2 separate regions of the Homo sapiens genome follow, and region 2 is linked to region 1. The links are contacts of gene promoters, found by promoter capture Hi-C in blood cells and fetal thymus (Javierre and others, 2016). All regions are on one chromosome and are shown on one strand. The core of a region is centred on a gene start or on the middle of the fragment in contact, and the rest is flanking DNA. Distances in the headings are between cores, read along the strand shown.

Evidence for each region. Contacts are between HindIII fragments. The CHiCAGO score rates a contact against its expected background, and 5 or more counts as called.
Region 2: a contact is called between a fragment that was not itself captured here and the fragment with the promoter of PM20D1 in region 1, in 1 of 17 cell types (endothelial precursors). The highest score is 5.9, in endothelial precursors.

What each region holds. Positions count from the first base shown.
Region 1 is chr1:205,847,518-205,852,735 of GRCh38, forward strand. PM20D1 (peptidase M20 domain containing 1) reads right to left here and starts at 2,615. Exons shown (of 13, transcript NM_152491.5): 1 at 2,387-2,615; 2 at 368-454. The coding sequence starts at 2,555. RefSeq lists an enhancer at 2,544-2,838. The HindIII fragment of the contact is 2,085 bases long and covers 844-2,928 here.
Region 2 is chr1:206,091,455-206,096,672 of GRCh38, forward strand. The region is part of intron 1 of RHEX (regulator of hemoglobinization and erythroid cell expansion); the gene reads left to right. Among named protein-coding and RNA genes, the nearest start is that of AVPR1B, 23 kb to the right of the region's middle. The HindIII fragment of the contact is 3,685 bases long and covers 1,116-4,800 here.

The sequences.
Region 1 (5,218 bases), core at 1,365-3,864:
GGTGTGTTTGGGTGTGTAAGGAGGTAGGGGTGGGAGGAGCATGGAACATAGTTCTGGGCAGTTGCACAAGTAGAAGGAAATCCTAGTTCTACTTTTTGATGATTTAACATTTATTGAATGACACACATGTAGGGCAAAATTTGAGAGAGTTTGTACTCTAATGCAATGGCTGGATGAACTCTCAATCTTTGCCCTACATATGGTGGCTTAGTTTTTCCAAGAGCAAATCTACAGTCTCTACTCTGCCTATGGGAATTAGATTGTCCTCTGATCAGTCGCAAAATAAACTTCTTTATCACTTTGTAAAAGAACTGTGTCTCCATTGCTATTTCTACCACCCACCCCTTGCCCCTGATTTGCAGCTGACCTTTATGAATGTATTTTCCGAACTCAGCCAGGGCTGTAGTATTGGACTTCTCAGAGCTAAAAGTCACTGTTGGAATCTGGATGGCACCTGTCAGAGTCAAATAGAGATGAAAGATTGAAAATGAATTAGTCATTGTTTTTTTCTACAGTCCTCTGTGCACAAAAAGTTCTTTTGCCTTCATTATCATATTGCAGAGGGCAAAACACTAATGTGAGGTAGGCGCTATTGTTTCCTCTAATTCGAAGATGAGGGAAAATGCTTGGAGAGGTTAGGTGAGCTGTCTGAGCAACAGGCAGACTATAGATTTAAACCTATGTCTTCTGGGTTTGTTTAGGCTGATATGGTTCTTAAAGGCAAATACAGTCTAAGATTGGAGGGAAGTGGATTTTTGGATCCTGGTCTTGAAGGGAAGCTACTATAAATTGCTTCCTAAGGCCTCACTACCTCTGAAATCACCAATTGCTTTGATGAATCCAAGCTTCATCATTCTCAAGGCACCCACTGTCCTGGGTCCCTACATCAATGAGGCTTGTGTGTTTTTGTATGTAAAGGCTTATTCCTTATGCAGAGTCTCACTAGTCTGTCAACCAAGACCAGCTTTTTGGGCATATAATGCCTGGGAAGGGGTGGATTTAGAAGCCTCCAAACAAACTCCTCAGTCCTAAAATAATCTCACCCTCCTTACTCAGTTGTCTCAGTTCCTGAACCTTCACTGGGCTCATCCCTTTGAGTCTTTAAGACTTTACAGTTTTAAAGAGTTCCATGATCAAAGACAAAACCACTGGGAGGGAAAGCATGAATCATGAGAATATTGAATTAGACTGCTCTCCAAGAACACAGTGCAAACAAATTCACCTGAGGCAGGAAGGGTCTCTGAAAGACAAACTTCATCAGTTTTGCTAAGGATCAACCCTACAATAGCATAGCCCACCAGATAGATGGGGAAGCCGAGGTTCAGAAAGATTCAAGTGCCTACTCAAGGGCAGACCCAAGGATCTGATCTCAGGTGTTCTGTCCCCTGCTCAGAGTTCCAAGCTGTGTTGCTATGAGGTCCCTATTCTAGCTTATGTAGCTTTTGTTCTCTTCTGTGCAGACTGTGAGTGGCTGTCTAATGCCTTTTAGAGAATTATTTATGCTTTGGGAAAGCCCTGCTCTGCCTCCCAGGCTTGTCACTCTAGCATATGAACAATCTATATCCAACTATTGGGGTTAGCTTTTGGTCCCTGCATCTGCTTCTATATGTTTATGCAGGCAGTCTCTCTTAATCCATTACTTAATGAAAGGGAAAAGACTGGAGCTAAGCTGAATGGTAAAGAAGGATTTCATCCCATAGGATCTAGCACTCAACAGAAACTTTCCTGTTTCCTGGAAAATGCAGATTCAGAACAGGGATGAATTTTTGGTCTGGATTAGAGATCTAGAGGAGACATGTTCTTCAATTATGATTGAGAATTAGGAACATCCCACACCCCGGGAACACTCCACTCCCTTTCTTTAGAGCCATCTGATCCCAGCGAGTCCGACAGGCACTAGATGCTGTCACCCACTGCCCACTCTTTGCTGTGGGGCCCTGGGGAAGATCATTTAGCTGACCTAAGCCTCAATTTCTCTCCTTTGTAGATAAGACTAATATCATTTGTCTTATTTTACGACACCGCAGTAATTTATCAGGCATGCAAACTTTCAAAGGTTAAAATTGATGTACAAATGAAAGCTGGTGTAATACTCGAGGCAAGCAGGGGAAAGAATGGACGGTGGTCACGCCAAGAGGGGTGAAGTTGGAGCTTCCAGGTTAGGCAGGGCACACCAGAGTTCCAGGAGCCAGGTATGGGGGAAGTGTGGCGTCCCCAGACAGGGGCACGATGTGCTGGGAAGGGTGTTGGGGCCGGGCTGGGGTGCGTGTCGGGGCTCCAGCTGCAGTAGCAGATGCTTTGCGGCGGAAGCGGGGAGTCACGGGTTGACCTGGGGAGGGAGGGACCCACATATGAGCATAGGTGGGTGAAGGGGACCCGGGTTCACCTTTCAGCGCCTCTTTCATCGCGACGCGTTCCTCTTTGCTGAACTGAGAAGGGATTCGCGACGCCCTTTGATGCTCCCCGCTCCTCGGGCCCATCGATCTGGAGACGGTAGGGAAAACTAGGAGCAGCATAGCCACCAGGGCCAGCACGCAAACGCACCGCTGAGCCATGCTTCTCTCGAGCTCCTGCTGTCAGGCTACCGGGGTAGTTCTGACCTAAACGCCCAGACTAGCGTTTCTTGGCCCTAGCTCTGCTCTTATTCCGGCAAACAGCCTTAGCCACACCCCATATCCAGATCTGACCAATCATCGCTTCGCTAGGACAGCGGAACAACCAATTGACAGAATGACCCCGCCCAGGATCCTTAAGGCCTTTCGAGGGTTGTGGGTTTTCGTGCTGAGGCCAGCAGTTCCTGCAGAGCAGAGGTGAGGTCGGGCTCCAGGCTAGAGTCATGTCTGGTCCGCACTTGATCTCTCACCCATAAATCCTTTCCTGTATGACAACAAATCAAATAAAGGAGGAAAAGCAAAATAAAATGCACGAAGCTTATCAGACCATACTCTGCTGCTCGTTTTTTCCGAAGCTTAGAACCTGACTACAATTCCCTAGATCCTGGGGCGGGGGAGCTCTCTAGGTTCCCAGCTTGATTTCATCTGAAATTGGAACAAATTGCTCTGTTTATAGATACTGCTTTGAAATACCAGCTCAGAGGGTTGGCTCCTGTTTAGAAATTTCATTGAAAGTGCTTTTAATATTAATGTTAACACTACATTTTTGCAACTCTAGACAAGTACAGTAAGACTGAAGGATTTTTAGAAAGATTACTATAAAATATTTAAGAGAATTTTGATGTATAAATAATTTTGATGTATTCCACAAGTGAAATTTTATGGTTATTCAGAGTAGAGGATCATTCTGGAAAAAAGAAAACCTGTCTTATGTCACAGAAATATAAAATCAGATTTCCTGAAGCCAGAATAAATCGTTCCTTTCAGATTTCTTGATGCAATTTTATCTGGCATCACTCTCAAATTTTAGAATTCTCAAGAAAAATTCAGTAAGTGCTATACAACCAGTAAGGCCATATTGCTACCTGTGACCAAAGCTACAGGTTCACAGTCCTGGTGTTTGCATTTCATTTAAGATTTGCTTAAAAAAAAAAATTCAGCCATGTAGTTACTTTTCTTTTCTTTTCTTTTTTTTTCTCTCTCGGTGCCCAGGCTGGAGTGCAATGGGGCGATCTCGGCTCACCGCAACCTCCGCCTCCCAGTTTCAAGCAATTCTCTGGCCTCAGCCTCCCAAGTAGCTGGGATTACAGGCATGCACCACCATGCCTGGCTAATTTTGTATTTTTAGTAGAGATGGGGTTTCTCCATGTTGGTCAGGCTGGTCTCGAACTCCCGACCTCAGGTGATCTGCCCACCTCGACCTCCCAAAGTGCTGGGATTACAGGCGTGAGCCACCACACCCTGCCTAGTTACTTTTTAATAGCAACTTTAAAACAGTATCATGAAATACTTCACATATTATAAAGATATAAAAAATAACATAATGAACATTTCTGGATTCACCACCTAGTTTAAGATTTAGAATGTTAAAAATAGAGTTGAAATTTAAACATGAACATTGACATAATTTTTAGTAAAAAGTAGCTTAATCTCTACCTAACTTTAAAATTTTTTTAAAAGAGACTTTTTATTTTATATATTTATTATTTTTTAAAATTATTATTATTTTTGTAGAGATAGGGTTTCACTATTTTGTCCAGGCTGCTCTTGAACTCCTGGACTCAAGCAACCCTCCCATTTAAGCCTCCCAAAGTGCTAGTATTACAGGAATGAGCCACCACACCCAGCACAATTTTTATGATTGTAAAATTCATGTATATTTATGCCCTTGTGAAATATTTGGAACATTAAGTATAAAGAAAAAAATCACATGCTATCCCAATATCCAGAGACGTTCACTCATCATATTTTGATGTTATCCAATCTTTTTTCTCTGCACACAAATACCCACAAATGAAGGATGTCCCTGTTTTAAAATGAAACAGATGCATATACTGCATCCAAAGTTCTATGTTCTGCTTTTTTTCCTTTAACATTATGTCATAAACACTTCCTGGTCCTTAAATATTCTTTAAATTATCTTATCACATAATATTTGATAATTAAGAGTACGTACAACGTGTATGTAAAGTAAATAATAACATGAACACCCGTGATTTGGAGTTTAGACCTAACTGGTCAAACTGCATTTTTTCTCCTGTCACTGCTCCAATTCTTGCAATCTGTCTAATTCCCACACTGTTCCCAGATCTAGCCAATCATGGAAAATTATCAGTAGCATTGAAGGTGCATGTGTTCTATTGCCTTTATTTTCCAACTCCCTGCCCAAGGTAATTGTATGACCGTGTTGTGTGTTTTAAATAGTTCTACAACATATGTATGATATACATATATGTATAGTGTGTGTGTGTGTGTATATCTTATAAAAATGACATCATGTTGTGTGTAGTCTTCTGCAATTTGCTCTTTTTACCCAACACTGTTTGTGGGATTTATGCATGCTGTTATATCTTGCTACAGTCTATTGACATTATTGTACATGTCTCCTGGGCCACAGGTAAAAGAGATTCTCTGGAATATATATCTAGGAGTGAAAATGCTGTGTTGTACTGTATGTTCTATTTTACAAGAGAAGGCTGAATTATTTTCCAAAGTGATTGGAACAATTTATACTAATCAGCAAGGTAGTGCATAGTATATAAGTTCCTGTTGCTTCACTTTCTCACTAGCTCTTGGCATTGGCATTTCCAATATCTTCATTTTGC
Region 2 (5,218 bases), core at 1,708-4,207, 240 kb after region 1:
GTAAGAAAAAATCCTCATACTTTTATTAACTTCAAAAATCAGTAATAAGTATTCAGTTTATCCAGTACATTTTGGCACTTTACCAAGATCATAATTTTAAAAATTTGCCCTATCAATATTGTATTTGTATTATATAAAAGACAGCTTCCTGACATGATTGGGATTTAGGATTTTGAGTCAGTTGGTTTAGGAAACATGAGTCTTCCAGCTGGCAACGTGGCAAATTTTTCAATCTTCCTAAGCCTTAGTTTCCTCATCTATGAAGTAGTGGTAATGTCTATTTTTGTAGAGTGAGAGGATTAAAGCACATGGAAAATACCCAATGTTTGTTTCCATCTTTGTAATAATCAATTTCCTCAACATCCTGGGCTAACTTCTTGATATTACCATATATATATACCTCCATATTCATAAATGAGATGAACCCAAGAGTTTCTGTCTTCCTGTGCCCTGTATTGGCTTGTAGAATAATAATTATGTGTTCCTTAAAAGTTTGAAACTCCTCATTTGTCAAACCATTTGGACAGGTATTGAGGAGGTAAGTCTGATAATGCTTCTAATTTATTTATTTATTTATTTCTCTTTCTTTCTCTCTTTCTCTCTCTCTCTTTCTCTCTCTTTCTTTCTTTCTTTTCTTTCTTTTCTTTTTAATAGAGATGGGGTCTTGCCTTGTTGCCCAGGCTGATCTCCAACTCCTGGGCTCAAGCTATTCAACTGCCTCAGCCTCCCAAAGTGCTAGGATTACAAGTGTGAGCCACTGGGCTCAGCCAATGCTTTTAATTTCTAAATAATAATAGCTTGCATTCATTGGATGCTTAGTACTATGTGCCAAAAGTTCTAATAACTATTTCACATAGCTCATCTAATTTCATCCTCAGAAGTAGTTATCATTTATATTTGTCTTATCTAGTCCCGAAATTAGTTACTGTTCCCATCTTACATATTAAAAGACTGAGGCTTTGAGAGGTTAAATAGCCAGGCCAAGCTCATGCAGAGAATGAGCTGGGATTTGAACCCAAGCAGTCTGACTCCAGGTTCTTTGTCTTTAGTGGCTAGATACCATGCTCCTTCCTAAACTTATTTCTTGTTATTTTGGTTTGGTTTTGGTCTAAGCTTTCCGTGCCATATGGAATCAATTTTGTTAATTTATACTTTTCTAGGAAACTATCCATTTTACTGAGATTTCATCAAAAAAAATTTTGTAGTCTAACTTTTTTTAAAACCTCTTCTTTTTTTTGGTACCCCATTTTTGTTGAAAAATGTTAATCCCTTCTGTTTCTGAGATTAATAGTCCCTATATTATTAATTTGGTTTATTTGTGTTTCCTCCTTTTCTTGATTATTGGAAACTGCATATTAAACTGGGAGAGAAAGTCTAGCAATGTGGAGGAGGCTGAATGTTACAAAATGGAAATAAAGATTTTTTTATTTTTAAATTTTCCATTTCCATCCAGCTTTGCTTTCTTTTCGCCTTACTTCACCCCAGCCTTTAAAGAGCAGGATGCTCAGGGCTGAAAAGAGCCTTAGGAGTACTTTGCCAAGCTCCCTAATTCACCAGGGCCTAGAGGGGACATCTCCCTGTCCAAAGTCACACCGTTAGCAAGTGACAGAGCCAGGAGAAGGCAGGCCCTAGCTCCCTTCTTTCCCCTTCTTTTGTTCTCCCTTCTTTTTGTTCTCTTTCCATTATACCTTAGCTAATGTTAAAAACAACAAATTAATGGAGACAGCAAAGAAAGTTTACAGCTACTTCATTTGAAAAGATTAATAAAGTCAGTTGACAATGTTGATTATAATTACTTTGATCCATATGATTTTTCTTTTTTTTTTTTTCCTTTTCAGACAGAGTCTTGCTCTGTCACACAGGCTGGAGTACAGTGGCGTGATCTCAGCTCACTGCAACCTCCGCTTCCTGGGTTCAAGCAATTCTCTGCCTCAACCTCTCGAGTAGCTAGGATTACAGGTGCCTGCCACCATGCCCGGCTAATTTTTGTATTTTTAGTAGAGACGGGGTTTCACCATCTTGGCCAGGCTGGTCTTGAACTCCCGACCTCATGATCCACCCACCTCGGCCTCCCAAAGTGCTGGGATTACAGGTGTGGGCTACTGCGCCTAGCCTAATCCATATGATTTTTCATAGAAATCATCTTCTATTGTGATCTTGTTTTAAACCGTTCTTTCTAGAATAAACCTATCCAAAGAAAGCATGGTGTATGGCAGGAAAGTGGGCATCTTTTTATTCTCCCCCTGATATTACGCTGTACCTATTGGAAAGGCCATGAGAAAGCTCCTGTATCAGTGGAGGAGGGAAACTTAATAAAATGGAATCCAGCCTTAACTCAAGTCTGAAGCAAACAAAATAAATGCTCTTAGCACTGGGACGAAGTAGGGTTTTTTTTGGTCGGGGGAGGAGGGACAGGGTTTTACTCTGTCACCCAGGCTCTTCTCAAACTCCTGGTCTCAAGTGATTCTTCCACCTCGCTCTCCCAAAGTGCTGAGATTACAAGCATGAGCCACCGTGCCCAGCCTAAAGTTTGGTTTTGAGGTGCCTGGCAGGGCACTACATTAGTGTGGGGGCTGGATGTCAAAATTCAGCACAGTGGAAGAGGACAGAACCGTCCCTACCTCGAGGATGGAACGAGGCACACCAAACCCTCACACAGTCCATGCGCTTTTTCACAACATAATTACCTTAAATTGCCCATTTCCTGGTTATTTGGTGTGTGTGTGTGTGTGTGTGTGTGTGTGTCACGTGCACGCGCAAATGAGCAGATGTCTCTGCTGATTGTCTGATCAGCAGTCTGCAATTAGACCCCAAGGAACAACCTGCTCATTGTGGTTAGGGGCCATTAGCCACTTAAATAATGACATCTGTCATAATTTTCATACCTTGGATCTTATCTCCAAACTGTACTCAAAACAAATGCCTAAGTTTTCTAAAATAGACCAATCCAATTTTTAATAGTTCTAGTCACCATCGTGGTGGAGGATTTTAGGGTTGAATAATACCTAATAATTACTGAGTGCCTCGTATATGCCTGGAATTGTATAAAGGTCTTTACAAACAGCATAAATCACTGAGCTCATGCAAGAACTCTGTGAAGTAGGAAACTATTATTCTTCTCACTTTATAGATACTGAAATTATTAAACTGAGACACTGAATTCAATAATTAACATCTAGAAGGGAACTGAACTGAAATTAGTATTTAAGAATGTTGGACGTCCGTATTATTTACTGTTTTCATTTGGATGAGCTGCTGTGTGTCATTTGGCTAGTAAGGGAGACAGGGTCTTACTCTGTCACCGGGCTCTTCTCAAACTCCCGGCCTCGGTGATCCTTCCACCTCGCTATCCCAAAGTGTACGCTCTGAGTATATGCTCAGAATATATTAAAATGTGGAAGATGGTGTAGGCAATCTAGTTTTGTATAAAGGGCCAAAATAAGGCATTAATCTTAAAATAATGGAACATATATCAAATTCAGTGATTCTCAACTGAGAGCAAACCCTCCTACCTCAGGGGGCTTTGGAAATGTGTGGGGTCATTTGGGGTCCCTTTGGCCATTACACTGGCCTGTTACACTGGGGGGCTTTCAGGAGGCTCCACAACCTGCCGTCTGCAAGACAGTTTTAGACAATAAGGACTTGTCTGGCTCCAAATGTCAGATACTACCGAGAAACACTGATCAAGGGCAATGGTAGGAATTCGAAATGATACCGTAAAACTCAAAGGTGGCAAACTCAAATGCCTTTAGGGATTAGTCAGGAAGTGAACAAATCATGTCCCAGTTTAGGGGCATACAAATTCAAATCACTAAAGCACTTCATCAGACAAAAATTAGGTGTCAAATGTGGCCTGTGGATCGCCTGGTTGGAGCCTTTTAGGGGAGGTTTTTCCTGACCAAAAAAACATGTTTACGATATATTAAGAGTAAAAAAATAGCTAACAATCTGTATGATTCCATGTTTTAAAGACATTGTCTCTGTGTACACACATTATTTGCATATATACATGCACTTATATCCATGAAAATATTTAGAAAATTTTCTGGAAGGATATGGAATAAGATTTGGGGTAATTTTGGCTGGGCGCGGTGGCTCACGCCTGTAATCCCAGCACTTTGGGAGGCCAAGGCAGGCGGATCACCTGAGGTTGGGAGTTCGAGACCAGCCTGACCAACATGGAGAAACCCCGTCTCTACTGAAAATACAAAATTAGCAGGGCATGGTGGTGCATACCTGAAATCCCAGCTACTTGGGAGGCTCAGGCAGGAGAATCGCTTGAACCTGGGAGGTGGAGGTCGCAGTGAGCCGAGATCGTGTCATTGTACTCCAGCCTGGGCAACAAGGCAAAACTCCATCTCAAAAAAAAAGATTTGGGGTAATTTTTTTTTTTTGATACAGGATCTCACTCTGTCACCCAGACTGGAGTGCAGTGGCATGATCATGGCTCACTGCAGCCTCAACCTGGACTCGGGTGATCCTCCCACCTCAGCCTCCTGAGTAGCTGAGACTATAGGCACGTGCCAGGCACACCTAGCTAATTTTTTTGTATGTTTTTAGAGATGGGGTCTTGCTATGTTACCCGGGCTGGTCTTGACCTCTTAGACTCAAACAATCCACCTGCATCGGCCTCCCAAAGCGCTGGGGTTATAGGTATGAGCCACTGTGTCCGGCTCAATTTGGGGCGATTTTCTAAAACGTGTTGCTCATTCATATTTTTAATTCTTTGACTACAAATGTCTACTAGTTGTGTAATTTTAAATAAATAAAGTAGAAGAGGAGCCTTAAAAAATAAAAGCTTTGAGTGTAGTATTGGAAGACAGCCCAGGCAACCTACTGGCCAACCCCCTCAAGGGGAGAATCATGTCTGTGATTAAGGACAAATGAGATATTCAATATTAGACAATCGATACTAAAGCACCAGAATTCCTTTAAAAATGGAACATTGTTGTTTTCTCAGACACACTGGTCTAGCTTCTAGCCCCCTTCCACAATTTTCATTTCTTTCACGATACAATAAAGCTCTTCTGGTAAAGTCCAGTCTTCCTTGTGCAGCTGCCCTGGCAGGGGTCTTGAGGAACCCCAGATGAGGCTTGAGAAATCAGCATCTGTACTGAAATTTATCTTAGGGGGGCTTATCCAAAATTAGACAAGAGCAGGACATTTTCAAGACAGCTCTGCCCCTTTTTCAATCAAGTCACCAAATCCTTCAAGAAAT